Linked DNA regions of Homo sapiens: region 2 is linked to region 1. The links are contacts of gene promoters, found by promoter capture Hi-C in blood cells and fetal thymus (Javierre and others, 2016). All regions are on one chromosome and are shown on one strand. Each heading gives the region's core, a stretch centred on a gene start or on the middle of the fragment in contact. The rest is flanking DNA. Distances are from core to core; before and after follow the strand shown. Region 1 holds the start of PTPRU (protein tyrosine phosphatase receptor type U). Region 2 overlaps LOC107984934 (a long non-coding RNA gene).

The links. The method cuts DNA at HindIII sites, captures the fragments that hold promoters and counts their contacts. A CHiCAGO score of 5 or more calls a contact.
Region 2: a contact is called between a fragment that was not itself captured here and the fragment with the promoter of PTPRU in region 1, in 1 of 17 cell types (endothelial precursors). The highest score is 6.1, in endothelial precursors.

What each region holds. Positions count from the first base shown.
Region 1 is chr1:29,232,058-29,239,390 of GRCh38, reverse strand. It overlaps PTPRU (protein tyrosine phosphatase receptor type U), which reads right to left and starts at 2,869. Exons shown (of 30, transcript NM_133178.4): 1 at 2,674-2,869. The coding sequence starts at 2,746. RefSeq lists a silencer at 2,747-3,066. The HindIII fragment of the contact is 8,758 bases long and covers 1-7,315 here.
Region 2 is chr1:29,682,558-29,689,890 of GRCh38, reverse strand. It overlaps LOC107984934 (a long non-coding RNA gene), which reads right to left. Exons shown (of 3, transcript XR_001737958.2): 3 at 594-3,582. Among named protein-coding and RNA genes, the nearest start is that of LINC01756, 340 kb to the right of the region's middle. RefSeq lists an enhancer at 42-541. The HindIII fragment of the contact is 2,019 bases long and covers 1,562-3,580 here.

The DNA.
Region 1 (7,333 bases), core at 1,620-4,119:
GCCACTCCCTCATTCCTGCCGTCCACAACTCCTGCGACCAAAAGGACAAAATAGCAAGAACACAGCAGAATAAATAACTACCAGGTTTGCAAGGCTGAGAAGGCATCACACACCGCCCCTACCCGGAAGCTCCGGAGCCATTCAGGGAGCTGGGCTGACTCTGTCCAGACTGGGGACAAGGGGTATCACATCTATTCTACTTGGGCTTCTGAGTTCATCTCTAAGAATAACAAAGGGGGCCAGGAACTTTACAAGTGAGGTGATTTGCCAGACATCACATGAATAGCAAGTAGCAGAGGCAGAATTTGACACCTAATACCCCAGCTTTAAATCACAGCCTCTGTCTGGGGCTTTGCAACAACTCTCAAATCCATTTTTTGTTCCCTGGCACTCACAGACAGAGCCTTACTTTACAAGGTACTTGGTATCTACCAAAAGTGCCATACACCATTATCATGATGGCTATGAGGCAGAAGAGGAAACTGAGGCATCAAGAATGGGAGTAACCTGCTCTAGGCCTCACTCCCAAACTTCAGTTCCTGACAGTCCTCCTGCTGGCAGGGCTTGGGGCTTGTGAGTGTTCTTGAAATCAAAGCGATGGTGGTAGGAGCGGGGATGGGGCGCATACAGAACCCCGCGGGTTTGATTTCACGGTGGGAGAGGGAGGCAAAGTTGCCGCAGGACATGGGGGAGAAGTTGGGGAGGATGGGGTGGGAGGTCGCCTTGGGCGTCCTTTCGGGAACGGGGAGGTCAAAGCTAAAGCTGTGCCCTATGGCCCCGGAGCTGCAGGGCGAGGCCCAAGCGCTGGCCAGTGGCCGGCGCGAACGCTGGAGCCACAGGAGTTCCGGCCCGAGACACCGGAGCCAGCAGCAGGGCCGCGAACGCGATGCCGGGGAGGTCAGTTGTCTGCGGCTGGCGACCGTGAGGAAGCGGCTCCGCTCCAGCACGTGTCTCGGCTCGGATCCCGCCCCGGGCGTCTCCCGGCTACCCGGAGCCCGCGGAGCAGCCCCGCCGGTGGCGAGGGCGGGGGAGGTCACCCGGAGCAGGGCCCCGAAACTCCGCGGGAAGGGGCCGCGGTCTAGGATCCCAGGCCTCAGGGTGGGATGTGGAACACGCGCACGCACACACATCCGACACACCGTCCACACTCCGACGAGCACACGGACACACAAACACAGGCTCCGTATACATACATTCAGCTGCGCGCACACACACACGCGCACGCACACCAAAGACACCAGACTCCGAAACACACCCGGAGAACGCGACCACACAGCAGACAAGCGCGGAGCCACACGCTCACACTCACGCTCACACTCAAGCACACACCTGGCGGTCCCGGCCGGCCGGGAGGCCGCACAAAGTTGCAGGCTCCACCAAGGGAGTGTCCCGGGAGGCCCGGGCGTCCCCCGCGCGTCCTGCGCGCCAAGGGAGGGGGCGCCGTCCCCCGGCGGCGAGCCAGGCCCTGCCCGCGCCCGGACGTCGCAGCCCAGCCCGGGGACAGCCCCCGCCCGGCCGCCCGGGGCGCAGCCGCGGCCCGGCCACCGCAGGAGCGCCCGCCGGTCCGGCCCTCCCCTGCCCGCCCGCCGGCCCCTCGCTGGGGCCCGCTGGCCCGGGCGCCCCGCAGCCCCGGCGCCGCCTCGGATCAGCCGCCCGCCAGCGCCGCGCGGAACTTGCGAAACAACAAACAGTCCGACATGCCCGAGGCGGCGGCCGCGGGGCCCGGTCCTCCCCTGAGCCTCGGGCCCTGCCCGACCCGGGCAGCCCAGGGGGCGCCGCCGCGACAACTTGTTCCGGCCCAGCGCGCCACACACGCGCACACGCACACGCGCGCACACACGTCCTGCCACCGCCCCCTCGGGCGGCCCCGGGACCAGGGCACACTCGCAGCCGCGGCCCAGGCGCGCTCCACACTCGCAACATTCCTGGACGCGCAGCCAGCACACACGGACACATTCGCACACACTCACATCCGTTCCAGACTCGCTCCCACACACGCATTCCCGGCACACTTGGCATTCACTCGGACCCACGCGGCCCCCGGCAGCACACACCACATACCCTAGACACTCCCCACACGTACACAGCGCACGGACACACACGTTCCGGACCCGTTCCCACGCCTTCACACATGTACACGGATCTCAAAAGCACACACGCCACACACGCGTTCCCGGATCCACACTCAGGCGGGATCCAGAGAGCACCCTTGGCCACAGGCATAACACAAACACACAACCCACTCGCAGACACAAAACAAACAGCACTCCCGGCCAGGCATACAAAATGCAAACAAATGCAACACATTAGCAGATACAACTCCCGCAACACAACCAAACTCAGATGCACACACAACCCACTTGGCCACACAAACACTACACACTGGCAGACCCACAAGACACTCAGCGCACACCCAATGCCTCGATGCACACAACATTCACCCCCAACATACTCGCCGACACACATCACCTTTTCTTGCGCACAGAACTCACGGACACACAACATTCGCAGTCACGCAACACCCCGGGCACACAATCGCCCATCCTACGCTCAGACACACACAGGGAGCACGCTCGTAACGCCCGGTCACTCAACACTCACACTTTCTTCCGAGCTACGCCACGGGCCCCGAGGCTCGGCGGGGCAGGCTCGGTCCGGCCGCCGCGCGCTTACCTGCCGGAGTCTCGGTCTCCGGCGCGCAGAGCTGGAAGGTGAGTGCCAGCACGAGCGCCTGGGCACGGGCCATGGTTGGAGCGTCGCCGCCCGTCCCGGGGCCCGGCGCGGGGGACGCCGCCCCCGGAGCCCGAGCCCAGCCCGAGGCGAGCCGGAGCCCGAGCCGGAGCGGAGCGGCGCGGCGCGGAGCGGGACTGGCGCCGAGTCCAGAGCGCGAGCCGGAGCAAGCGGGGCGCTGACGTCAGGCCCGGCCGCGGGTTCGGCGGTCTCGCGGCGCTCCCTGCTGGCCACGGCGGGTGCTGCAGCGGGTCCGGCCGCCCGCTAGCCCTGGCGCGCCCCTCCCCCGCTCCCGCATCCTCCCCGCCATGAGGCCCCGCGGCTGGGTCTGGACGCCCACGGACGTCTCCACGGACCGGGCACCAACACTGCCAGGCGAGCACGCTCATGGCCCACGCCTAGCTCCCGTACAGCGCTCTCAGGGACGGTGACCCAGGGACACCCGGCCTCTGTCCCATCCGATGCCTGAATCCCTTGTACCTTGGCGCCTTCAAATGCGTGTTCTACATACCTCCAGGAACAGGGCGCTCATCACCTGGCCAAGAGCGGTTGTTGGGGCTTTGGAAACGCCGGCTTTTAGAAAGTTTTTCATTTCATGACGTGCAAGTCTACCTCCCTCACTAGCCCTCACTGGTCCTACTCTACCTTCTGGCTACACAGGTTAAATGTATTTGGGCCTCTACCCAGAACGAGCCCTCGCACTATGATCTGCAAACTCGTTGCTCATTACTATGTAAGACCAGGTACCTTCTATGTGTTTAACCCACATGGACTCATTTAATCATCATATATTAGGTATGCAATAATTATACTGCATAAATACTGTTATGCAACAGTATTTGACAGCACCGAGATTTGAATCAAAGTTGTTTGGTTTGAATTGAATAGGGGCTGAGACCTTCCTCCCATCTGGACACCTATTCATTCAACAAATATTTATTGGGGTCTATTCATTTATTCAACAATTACTATAGGCCAGGGTAGAGATATAAAACAGACAAAAATTCCCTACTCTCATGGACCTTACATTCCAGTGGGAAGACAAGAACAGTAAACAACCAAAAAAACAAAAACAAAAAAGCAAACCCTCTGGTGTACGTCCTTTATCACTGTCTCATACACCAGGAAATTTGGGGGTGGTGGGGGGACAGGGAAGGGAAGGGGAATTGTTGCAATTTCAAATAGAGTGCGGGCTATATGATGAGTTCATTATCTGTCTCCACCTCTAGAAATGAGCTCCCTTGGGAAAAGACTCATCTTGTATTTCCGTGCCCAGTATATGGCATGTTTTTATTATTTTATTTTATTTTATTTTATTTCAAGATGGAGTTTCACTCTTGTTGCCCAGGCTGGAGTGCAATGGCGCAGTCTTGGCTCATTGCAACCTCTGCCTCCCAGGCTCCAACAATTCTCCTGGCTCAGCCTCCCAAGTAACTGGGATTACAGGTGCCCACCACCACGCCCGGCTAATTTTCGTATTTTTAGTAGAGACAGGGTTTCACCATGTTGGCCAGGCTGGTCTGGAACTCCTGACCTCAGGTGATCCACCTGCCTCAGTCTCCCAATGTGCAGGGATTACAGGCGTGAGCCACCGCGCCCGGCCTCTGGCACGTAATTGATGCTCAATAAATACTGACTGGATGGAATGAATGAAAGGGAAATGGTCCTAGCCTTCATGAATCTTACATTCTATTAGGAGAGCCCAACAGCAAACATGTACATAAATATATCATTACCATCTAAGATATGCAAGCTAAAGGAAACGAGGGAGTATAATGATAAAGAACATAGGGAAGGGGCATCTCCTTTAGATAAGTGGTCCAAGAGGGCTTTGCTATAGAAGTGACATGGTGACATTTGAACTGAGACCTGAAGTATGAGAAGGAGCCAACCTCATGCAAATCAGTGGAGAGGAACATTGCAGTCAGAGGGGACAGCCTGTGCAAAGGCAGGAGCTGGTGGGTACAAGCAGCTGCAAGGAAGCCGGGCAGCTGGCATGGAGTGAGTCAGGGGCAGAAGGGAGCCAGGTGCAGCTAGACAAGTCAGCAGGGTCTGTAGGTCAGGCAAGAAACTATGAGCAAGGAAGGGGCTTGAGGTTCAACCCTAAGAGTAATTAATGGGAGGCCACTGAAGTGGAGTAATTAAGCAGAGGAGTAATAAGGAGTAATAAGTTCTGATCTCTGGGTTTTTTTTTTTTTGTTTTTTTTTTTTTACAGCTCCAGCTATAAAGACTGCTGAAGTAGGGAAAGCCATGGGCAGATGGGTCTGACCACTGGGCAGTGACACTGAACAAAGCGTAGGAGTTCAAGGTATATGTAGGCCCTCCCTGTGCCCTGCCCCTCCTAGCTGGCTTCATGCTGAGATGGACACACCTTGAAGCTGCCCTGGGGCTGGAGGAGGTATCGCTGGGTTGAGAGTTCCTGGGCTCTTGGTCTCCTCTCTTGTGAGAGCTGATGAGCTCCACACTGAGTTAGGAAAGGGACCAAAAGACACAGCAGGCAAGAATTAGACACAGATAATTAAATAGGGAGAGGGAGGCAGAAGCAAGAAGAAACCAAGGGGAAACCTTAGGGAAGAAACTAAGATACAGAGACGCTGGAGCAGAGAGGAGCCAGAGAGGCCCACCCAGAAAAGGAAACTCAAGGAGAGAAAACCAGTGAACAGAAGAAACAACCAAGGGTGCTGTTTGCAGAGGGCTCTTGAGAGAGCCTCAAAATAGGAGTTTTACCAGTGATCCCATTTTACGGGTGTGGAAACTGAGGTTCAGAGAGCATATGACACTTGCCTAAGGTGACACAGCTAGTAAATAGACGGCGGGCCCTAGATTTGAACCCAGATCTGACTGATTCCACATCCCTTTGCCCTTTGTGCAGGGGAAGATGGCAGAGACTATAATGGAGGGAGAAAGAGAACACAAGCAACAGGTAGACAGATGAGAAGAGGACTTTCTGCTTTACTTTTAAAAGACCACAAACTTCAGCCGGGCACAGTGGTTCACACCTGTAATCCCAGCATTTTGGGAGGCAGAGGCGAGGTCAGGAGTTTGAGACCAGCCTGACTAACATGGTGAAACCCTGTCTCTACTAAAAAAAAAAAAAATACAAAAATTAGCCAGACGTAGTTGCGGGCACCTGTAATCCCAGCTACTCAGGAGGCTGAGGCAGGAGAATTGCTTGAACCTGGGAGGCGGAGGTTGCAGTGAGCCAAGATCGCGCCATTGCACTCCAGCCTGGGCAACGAGCAAAACTCTGTCTCAAAAAAAAAAAAAAAAAAAAAAAAAGACCACAGACTTCTATAATCCTTGAGAGAAGAAGGAAGAAGGAAATTCCTGGCCTGGAGTGACCAGCCCAAATCTAGGGAAAAGGAGATGGCACCACAGACCGTTCTAGGCCATGAGGAAATTCAATTACCTGCAACTCATGGAATATTTATGACACCTACCCTGTGCCAGGCTCATATCGGGTGCTGGTGTTATGGAGATAAACCAAACATGGCTCCAGTCTTGCCTGGAGGGGAATAAATAAGAGACGATGTACTAAAGGCCATAACACAGCTCCAGGGAAAACACAAAGGCAGCAGCAGATGACCTAGGGAGTTTTGAAACATCAAAGAAATGACATCTGAACCTGGAGTTTCCGAGGCAGGGAACAGCATTTCAGGCAGAAGGAGTGGCCTGAATAAAGGCACAAGACACACTGGGGAAGACGGGTATCAGATGCAGCTGGATCACAGGCTATGCACGGTCCAACAGGAGAAGATGAAGCTGGAAATGCAGTGTGGGAGTCAGAGTGCAAAGAATCTTGAATGCAAGTCCAGGAAATTGGACTTGAACCCCTCAGTCAGTAGTTCTCAAACTATGCCCCTGCAAGAACCCAGATGGCCTAGACTAAAAGTGAGGGCTATTGGGATGCACAGGAGGCTAAAGTCCAGCCCCAAGGAGGAGGACTTGCTGGATGATTCTTCAGGCTTCCTGACTGGGCTCCCCAGAAATTCAGAGGAGCCAATTTGGTGAAGAAGAGAATGTCGACATCTCAATGTCACCTAGGGAGTCTTACAACAGAAGGTTACGTTGTACTTCCCAGTTCAAGTAAGCCTATGTGTCACTGGGGAAAAGGGTAAGCAGGACTGGTCATCGTGTGTGTGCTGGCACATAAATGTGGGGCCAAGCCTTTCCCCCACCATGGGACACCAACTTTCTCTAATAATAAAAACAAGTACAGACATTTAGTGAGCACATACTATAAGCCAGACCCTAGTCTGAGGGTTTTATGTGTGATATTTCTCATTTAATCACAATAACCCCCGATAATATTTATCAAATGCTTCCATGTGCCAAGCATTGTACTAAATGCTTCAAGTGGATAATATCTCACTTGACCCTCACAACAATCTTGAAACAGATAACTAGTATTCCTTCCATTTTAAGAGTAAGAAAGTGAAGACACAGAGAGGCCTGGTGACTTGTCCGAAATCAAATGGCTGGAAAATGGCAGAGCTAGGACATAAAGCCAGGTTTGTCCAAATCTAGCTCACAGTACTTTGCTGTGCTCTCTTCCTCAGAGGAAAGGCTTGGAGATGGCAAGCTTCAAGTCAATAAAATCCA
Region 2 (7,333 bases), core at 1,322-3,821, 450 kb before region 1:
TGGCTCTTGCTGGCTGGGCCCAGGGCCCTCAGAGCTCCCCATCCATCCCTCAAGCCCGCTCCTCCCTGGGGTTTCCTATCCCAGAAACGTCCTGCCATCCCCACCAGGGTCCCAGACTGGGAAGCCAAGAGATACCTCCTCTCCTTTATCTCTCCCCCACAGTAAAAGTTAGTCCTGCCCTGTTCCTTCACCAAATGTACCAAGTGCCCACTGAATGCCCACCCTTCTCCAGGGACACAGCGATGACGGAAGCAGACCCATCCCTGTCCCCGTGGAGCTCAGCTCCAGCAGGAGAGACAGGACAGGGAAGCTCCAGGTGATGAGGCGCAGCTGTGCCAAGGGTGCCACCTGGTGTCGTGGGAGCTGTAACGCCGGAGGGGGGAGGGGAGGCCCCAGCAGGAGGGCTGGGAGGGCAAAGGCCCCGGGTGGGCACAGCTGGGGATGGGTGGGGTCTTTGCATTGTTAGGCCCCAGCTTCCCAGCTCTGAGCAACAGAGTCTCTGGCATTACAGCTGCCCCCTGCCCTAGCTTCACAGTAGGTCCAGGGCCTCTCCAGTGGACTCACACCTGACTGGACTCTGTGACCCCATTTCTACCTCTAAAATAGTTAATTCGTTGCTCCAGGATGGCCCCACTCACCAGTGGGGATGGCCCTCCCCACAATGGGGACCGGCCCCGCCCATACAAGGCTGTTCTCTGATGGCCTCCTTCCCTTGGCCCACCCTCTCCTACGGCCCAACATCCTCCTGAGAGCCCAGCCTGCCCCCTACTTTGGCCATTGAAGGGCTCTTGAGGACCCCCGGAGACCAGCTCGTTGGTGACATTGTGTGCAAGAGCAGCACGGCTGGTCCTCCAGTGAGAGGCTGCAGGCATCTCTCCAGACCTCTTTGAGAACAAAGATCTCAACTTCTACGTCTCAACCAGGAACCAAGGTGGAAGGGTTTCCTACCCCTTCCCCAGCAGAAAACGGCTTTTGCTCCAGCCCCTCCCCCAGAGACAACAGATCTTTGTCTGAGCCTCCAGGGTAGAAGGTTTTTCCTGCCCCAGGGAAGTGGTTTGAGGCTTTTGCTTCCGATAAGAGAAGGGTCTGGGAAGTGGGAGGGTTTTCATGTCCCTGTGCCCTTGAGAGGTGGCTGACTCAGATCCCTGTCCTGTCCCGTCTTTGTCCTGAGCTTTACCGGAAGCAGCTGATGAAGGAACGTGAACTCCTTTTAAGTGTGGGGGCTCCTGGGATGGCTCAGCTGTAAAGCCTTTGCACACTCAGCCTTTAAGAATTCATTGCAGTGTTAGCTGTCTGTTATGGCAGCCCACTCTCCCTCCAGGGTTCTGCCAGAGGTGCAGGAGTGGGTGGTTCTGTCTTTCTCAGAAGATCTTGTCATCCTTTAGGTTTCAGTTCAGTTGGCTGCCTTGCGACTCCAGCTCTCTGAAGGGCTCAAGAAAAGTTATGACTCTGTAGATTATCTGGCCTTTTTTCTCATTTTGTCTCATGTGTCTTTTCATATCCTAAGTAGAAACAGAAATTCATGCGAGAACCAAAAAAGTAAACAGAATGTTAGGAAGCTTAAGCAAATGTTGGAGGCAGCATAATGATGTGGCAGCTTCTTCCTGTAGAAAGGTCACTTTTTCATTTCAGAATTCAATAAATATTTGTTGAGCACGTATTATATGCCAGTCACTGTTCCAGACATTGGATGCATTGGAGGCAGAGAGACCAAGTGGGAGGCTGTTGGAGTAGATTGATAAACAAAGGCCCAGAGAGGGAGATAGAATATACCCAGGTCACACAGTGAGAGAGCACAGAGTTGGGATGGGAACCCAGCTTCTTTGACTCCATGCCCAGGGCTGCCCTGCCTTTCATCATGAGGTTTGCTGGAAGCCTCTGAAGATAATCTAATTATCACCCTGCTGGGAAACAAGAGCCATGGGCCAGAGCTCTGTGCCTCCAAAAGACGATGAAATTCAATTTGGGGCCTGAGAAATTCATGAAGACTAAATAAAAAGGGAACAATTGAGCTGGTAAATGTGTGGTGAGACAGGCATTCTCATGCAGTGCTGGAAACCTTTTTGGAAGACAACTAAGTAGGAACGCTCTTGAGCCTCAGCAATGTCAGTGCTCTGATGCACTGATTCCACCTCCAGGAATTTGTCCTAGAGATGCTTATTGCAGCCTGATAATAACAGTGAAAAGCTGGAAACTGTAATGCCCTGTCTATCCAACCAGAAAGAATGAAAAAGTCAATTATGAAGCATCTCAATGAGGGACCATTATGAAGCTATTAACATCCCGTTTTTGAGGAACTTTTTAATGATGTGAGAAAATGCTCACAACAGAATGGTAAGCAAAAAAAAAAAAAAAAAAAAAGAGAGAGACAGGTGAATACAGTAAGATCTCAATGACAAAATATATCGTATATAAACATCTACAATACATGCCTATAGAAAAGCTAGATAATCCTACTGACAACAGCAATAAGGAGACAGAAAAGCTGTTGGTTGAGCCCTGGCTTTGTGTCAACTATTGTGCAAAGGGCTTGCCACGCATTCGTTAGTTCTTTTAATGCTAAATGGACATACATGGAAGAAAAGGAGGCACAGAGAAGTTCATTGACAAGTCCAATGTCACAAAGCTGAGTCCAAGCTAAGATTTGAACTCAGGTCTGGAAGACTCCTCTCTCTACTGTGAACCTTTAAGGCTGAGGAGAGGGGCAGGCAGGGTCTTGGACTGACCCACTGCCCCCAGCCCCTGGAGAATTCATTCACTATCTCTTGGGAGCCTACTGAGACTCTCTCAATTGTCCTGACTAACTGAGGTCCAGATCCCCCTGACCCCCATCTCCCACCCCCAAGCTGGTCCATGCCTTTCCTCTCCATTGGGCTACATCTCCCTCCACCCCAACACACACATAATCCTCTGCATTAATCACATATTTCCCCGGTGGACCATGCTGACAGCTGGGAGGTGCATGGAGATGGACAGCCCCGTGACTGTCTCACAACCTGGGAGGTGCGTGGAGATGGATGGCCCCGTGACTGTCTCACAACCTGGGAGGTGCGTGGAGATGGACGGCCCCGTGACTGTCTCAGAACCTGGAAGATGCGTGGAGATGGACAACTCTGTGACTGTCTCACGGCCTGGGAGGTGCATGGAGCTGGACGGCCCTGTGACTGTCTGATGGCCCAAGCCCTGCTCATTAGTGCAGCTTACACATCCATCACCTTCAGCGAAAGACAAACACCAGCGCAGGAGGATCCGGGAACTATCACTCAAGGGGTCCTTAAATAGAGGGGGTAAAGAGAAACTAGCTTCTTCCCTGATTTTTTGATAAATTTTTCTTTAATGCATCAGTCTCTAGTGTCCCTGCCCAGCCTGGGCTGCCTGAGCCACTCCTCACCTAGCCTGGGGCAATCAGGAAATACACCGCCTGTCTGCTCACTCGCACGTGGAGAGCAATCTCATGAGGCCCCCTGGATTTTATCCTCCCCTCCCTGAATGTGCAGATATCTCATCCACCTCTTGTTTTGATGGATCTAGATGTTCTGATCCGAAATGTGGTGCAGCAGCTGAGCAGAGGAGTGAAGCTTCCTGGAAGGAGGAGGAGAGAAGGGATTAATTCCGCCACACTTACCATTCTCACCCCAGCTCATCCTGCCCTGCCCAGCCAGCCCTCTGCACCGCCTGCACCTCCCTTCTGTGGGGTCCCGAAATGGCAGCTATACTGTGGGCATGCCGGTGTGTTGGTCACCGGCATCAAGCTGCCCAGACCTCTTTCCCAGAAGGATCTCAGATCCAGCCAGGCCCCCGTTATTATAGATCTCAGCCTACACCATAGGCATAGGTGCAAGCAGAGAGGACTTTAATTAATTTTGTGTGTGTGTGTGTGTGTGTGTGTGTGCGTGTGTGTTCTCCTTTACAAAGCATTTTCCTATCCATTCTCCACATCTCTGCAAGGCCAGGAGATTTATTAGCCCCACTTTATAGATGAGGAAAGTGAGGCACAGACAGGTAAGATGTTTACCACTTGAAGTTACCCAGCTAGTTAAGTCATGGCCATTGGACTCCAACTCGCGTTTGACTGATACAAAGTCACTGGGTTCCCTGGGTCACAAGGGCTTCTTGAGATGCAGACACTGAGATGGAGTTGGGGACATGAGTGGAGATGCTTATTAGGGATGGACAGAAAGGGGAAAGGAAGGAAGGAGGGGCCAGAGGGGAGGAAGTCAGCCTGGTCCACAGCCAGAAGGTAAGTAGCTTGAGTCAGCTGTCAGAATTGCCCAGCGCAGGGCAAAACTGGCTGGGCATTTCCACCCTGTCTTGCTCAGCCCCTGAGTGTGTGCTCCCAGGAAGGGAGCCCCTGCAGCAGAGCTAACAGAAGGAGGCCCTCTGTGGACTGCACTCTCGGAGCTGGGAGCAAGCCTTTCCTTGATGGTGCCTCTGGGTGTGCGTCTCCTTGTCTACTACTCACACAGGCTAAAAGTTCAAGTGCAAGAGAGTGAGTAGGTCCCTACTCTTTCGAGCACAAGAGCGGGATAGGAAGGATAAACTGTCAGGGCATCCAAGTGGGCCCCTCCTCATCTGTCACAGCACTCCCCTGGTGCTGCTCACATTCATTTCTCCATGCAGGGAACTCTTAGGGATCACCAGGTTCTGCACACATTCCTCCCTGCCCCCACTGCACTGCAGCAGCCCCCCACCTCCTGCTGATCAGACTCCATTACCCTCACCAAGACTGCGACCTCGTCTTCTTGCTTTTCTAGTCCCTGGGTACAAGGAGCCCAAATACCCAGGCAGCCACCATGGCAAACAAGCTAGAGACTCTTACTGTGTTCCCTGGAACATGCAGGTCCCCCTTGGGGACCAGGATGTCCAGCCTTGCAGAGCCCAGAGTCGCAGGGATGGGAGTCACTAAGTCTGGCAGTGGTTCACTAGGAGAATAGTAAGTGGGGCCACTTTGGCTCCTACCTGTTTTTCTTAAGTCCATGTACTCTTCTTATTGGGGAGCAACCCTTATATAGGGCTTTGATTAGATGCATATACTGCATCCTGAAGGATGGAACCTTGTGCTCACAGGGTATTTCCTCCAAGCTGGCGCTCTGGCTGGGCCCTCAGCAGGCCCCTCCCACACTCTGTAAGGTGGGCAGCGGCTGGGTGGTATGGTATGTGATATAAACATGGGCCCTTCGTTGTGAGTCTGTGCCTGCACCTACTCTACAGTAAAGTGGGTCCCCTGGTCTGACACACTATTATGTGGGATCCTGTGCCAGTGGATCGAACAATCCATCAACCCCGGGGTAGGAGTGCCGGCTGAGACCCTGCAGGCAGGAAAGACAAACCCCTCCCAGGAATGGATGGTTGTTCCTCTGAGATTAGACTGCTGTGCCTTCCACGTGGAAGAGCCCAGTGTAATGGAGTTGACTTGTCAGTTGGCCTCCGTGAGGCCTGGTGCCATCGCAGGGACTTAGCCATGGTTCCGCTGCTGGCATGTTGGTTTCCAGAAGCAGCAGCGGGAGATCAGCCTGGAAAAGCAGGAGCCATGCTGCTGTGCCCGTGCACAGCCTCCACCCCCATCATGCCAACACTGAGGTGGCTGAGGGCAGCTGTGCCTGTGCACAGCCTCCACCCCCATCATGCCAACACTGGGGTGGCTGAGGGCAGAGAAGGATGCCAACCAGTTGGATCACCTACTTGGTTGTTTCGTGTTGCCCCCGCCTGCCTTGGGGAATGCTCTCAGGTGACCATGAACCTGTGACACAAAGATTTGAGCACTTACTGTACTAGGTGCTGAGCTGTGAGCTTTACATCTGTTAGTTCATTTATTATAACATAGGAGCTCTCACCATCCCCATTTTATAGATGGGGAAACTGAGGCACAGAAAGGATCAAGTATCTTGTCCAAGGCTACTCGGCTAGGGACTGGAAGAGCCAGGGTTCACATGCAGGCATCTGGCTCCACAGAGCTTCTCTGAACACCCAGAATGGGTCCTGGTCCTGTTCTCTCCTCCAGGAAGTGCCTCTGACCCACTCCTCCTCAGAAGACAAAAATGCACAAAGGGTAGGAAGAGGGCTCATCACTGATTCTGCATGCCCTCCACCTTAAAGAGCCACCATGAAGACCCAGGCACCCAGAGGTAAGACTGGCACTAATCCAGCCTTCTGGGGCAGATCCATTGCAGCTGGGAGTGCGTGCAGCGTAGCCTTGTGGAATACGTTCACTGAGCATCTACTATGTGCCAGCCCCTGTGCCTGGGATTTCTTGGTGGACAAAAGCAGACCCTCCCCTACCTGTGAGGGTTCACAGTGGGAGTGCAGATCAAGTTTTAAGTGACACTCATGGTAGGTCTTATCAAACAAAGCAGATGGAGCTATCAGGGCCTATAATGGGGGCGCTGATCTGGCTGGGGAGTCAGAAAAGACTTCCCGGAGGAGGAGACACTGGAGCAGACCAGAAACCTGGAAATGCACTCCTCGGAATATTGTGAATGGGACTGGAATGCCAGTTGGGTGTCTGGGCTGAATGATGGTTAAGATCTCCAAATCCTAAAAGCCTATGATTCTGACTTATTATTTCCTGGTTCTAAGATTTTATTGACTGAAGACCTTAAGACTTGGAGATGTAAGATTCTGGTAGCCGAGAACCATGGGGTTCTCAGGTGCTGAGATTCTCACGCACAAGCCTTTGCTGCTGGAGAAGCACCACACAGAAGCTGCCAAGGGCCAGGAGCTGGCTTTCCCTCTTCCTGGGCCCCCAGCCAGGCCCATAACAGGATGTCTATGCAGCTCTTTGTCACTTAGAGAATGTAAATTTATTCTGCATTTCCAGCGCCAGGCACTCACCTTATCTGCATGTAACAGTCACCAGAATAAATATTAGAAGACAGGTCTGTGGAGATCTTCTGTGTGTACATGAGTTAAATCCTCCAGCCAGTTAATCCAGGCAGGGATTTCAACAGAAATGCTATTCTTATATTAATTACAAGGAGGAGCTGGTAACTGGGGCTCTGTTCCATTTGAGGAGGGGCTGCTGTCTCCTGCTGGAGGGATGGAGAAGGGGCCTTTGTGTGCCGAGGCTGAGGGACTGAGTGGGTGGGGAGAGGGAGAGCATCTGTCAGCAGTGTGGTTGCAGGTGGGGCTGTTTTCCACCCAGTATCCGGGGCCCTCAGCGTGAACTCTCGCCTGGGCTCACTCAGCGCTGGGGCTATAGAAGCTTCCCCAGTGGGGTCAGAGGGAGCAGGGCAGCCTTGCCACGGGTCACACACTGCACTGGGCACTGGCTGGGCTCCAAAGTCACATAGATAGACCAGATCTTGGCTCCCCCACTCAGCAGCTCAGCCATATG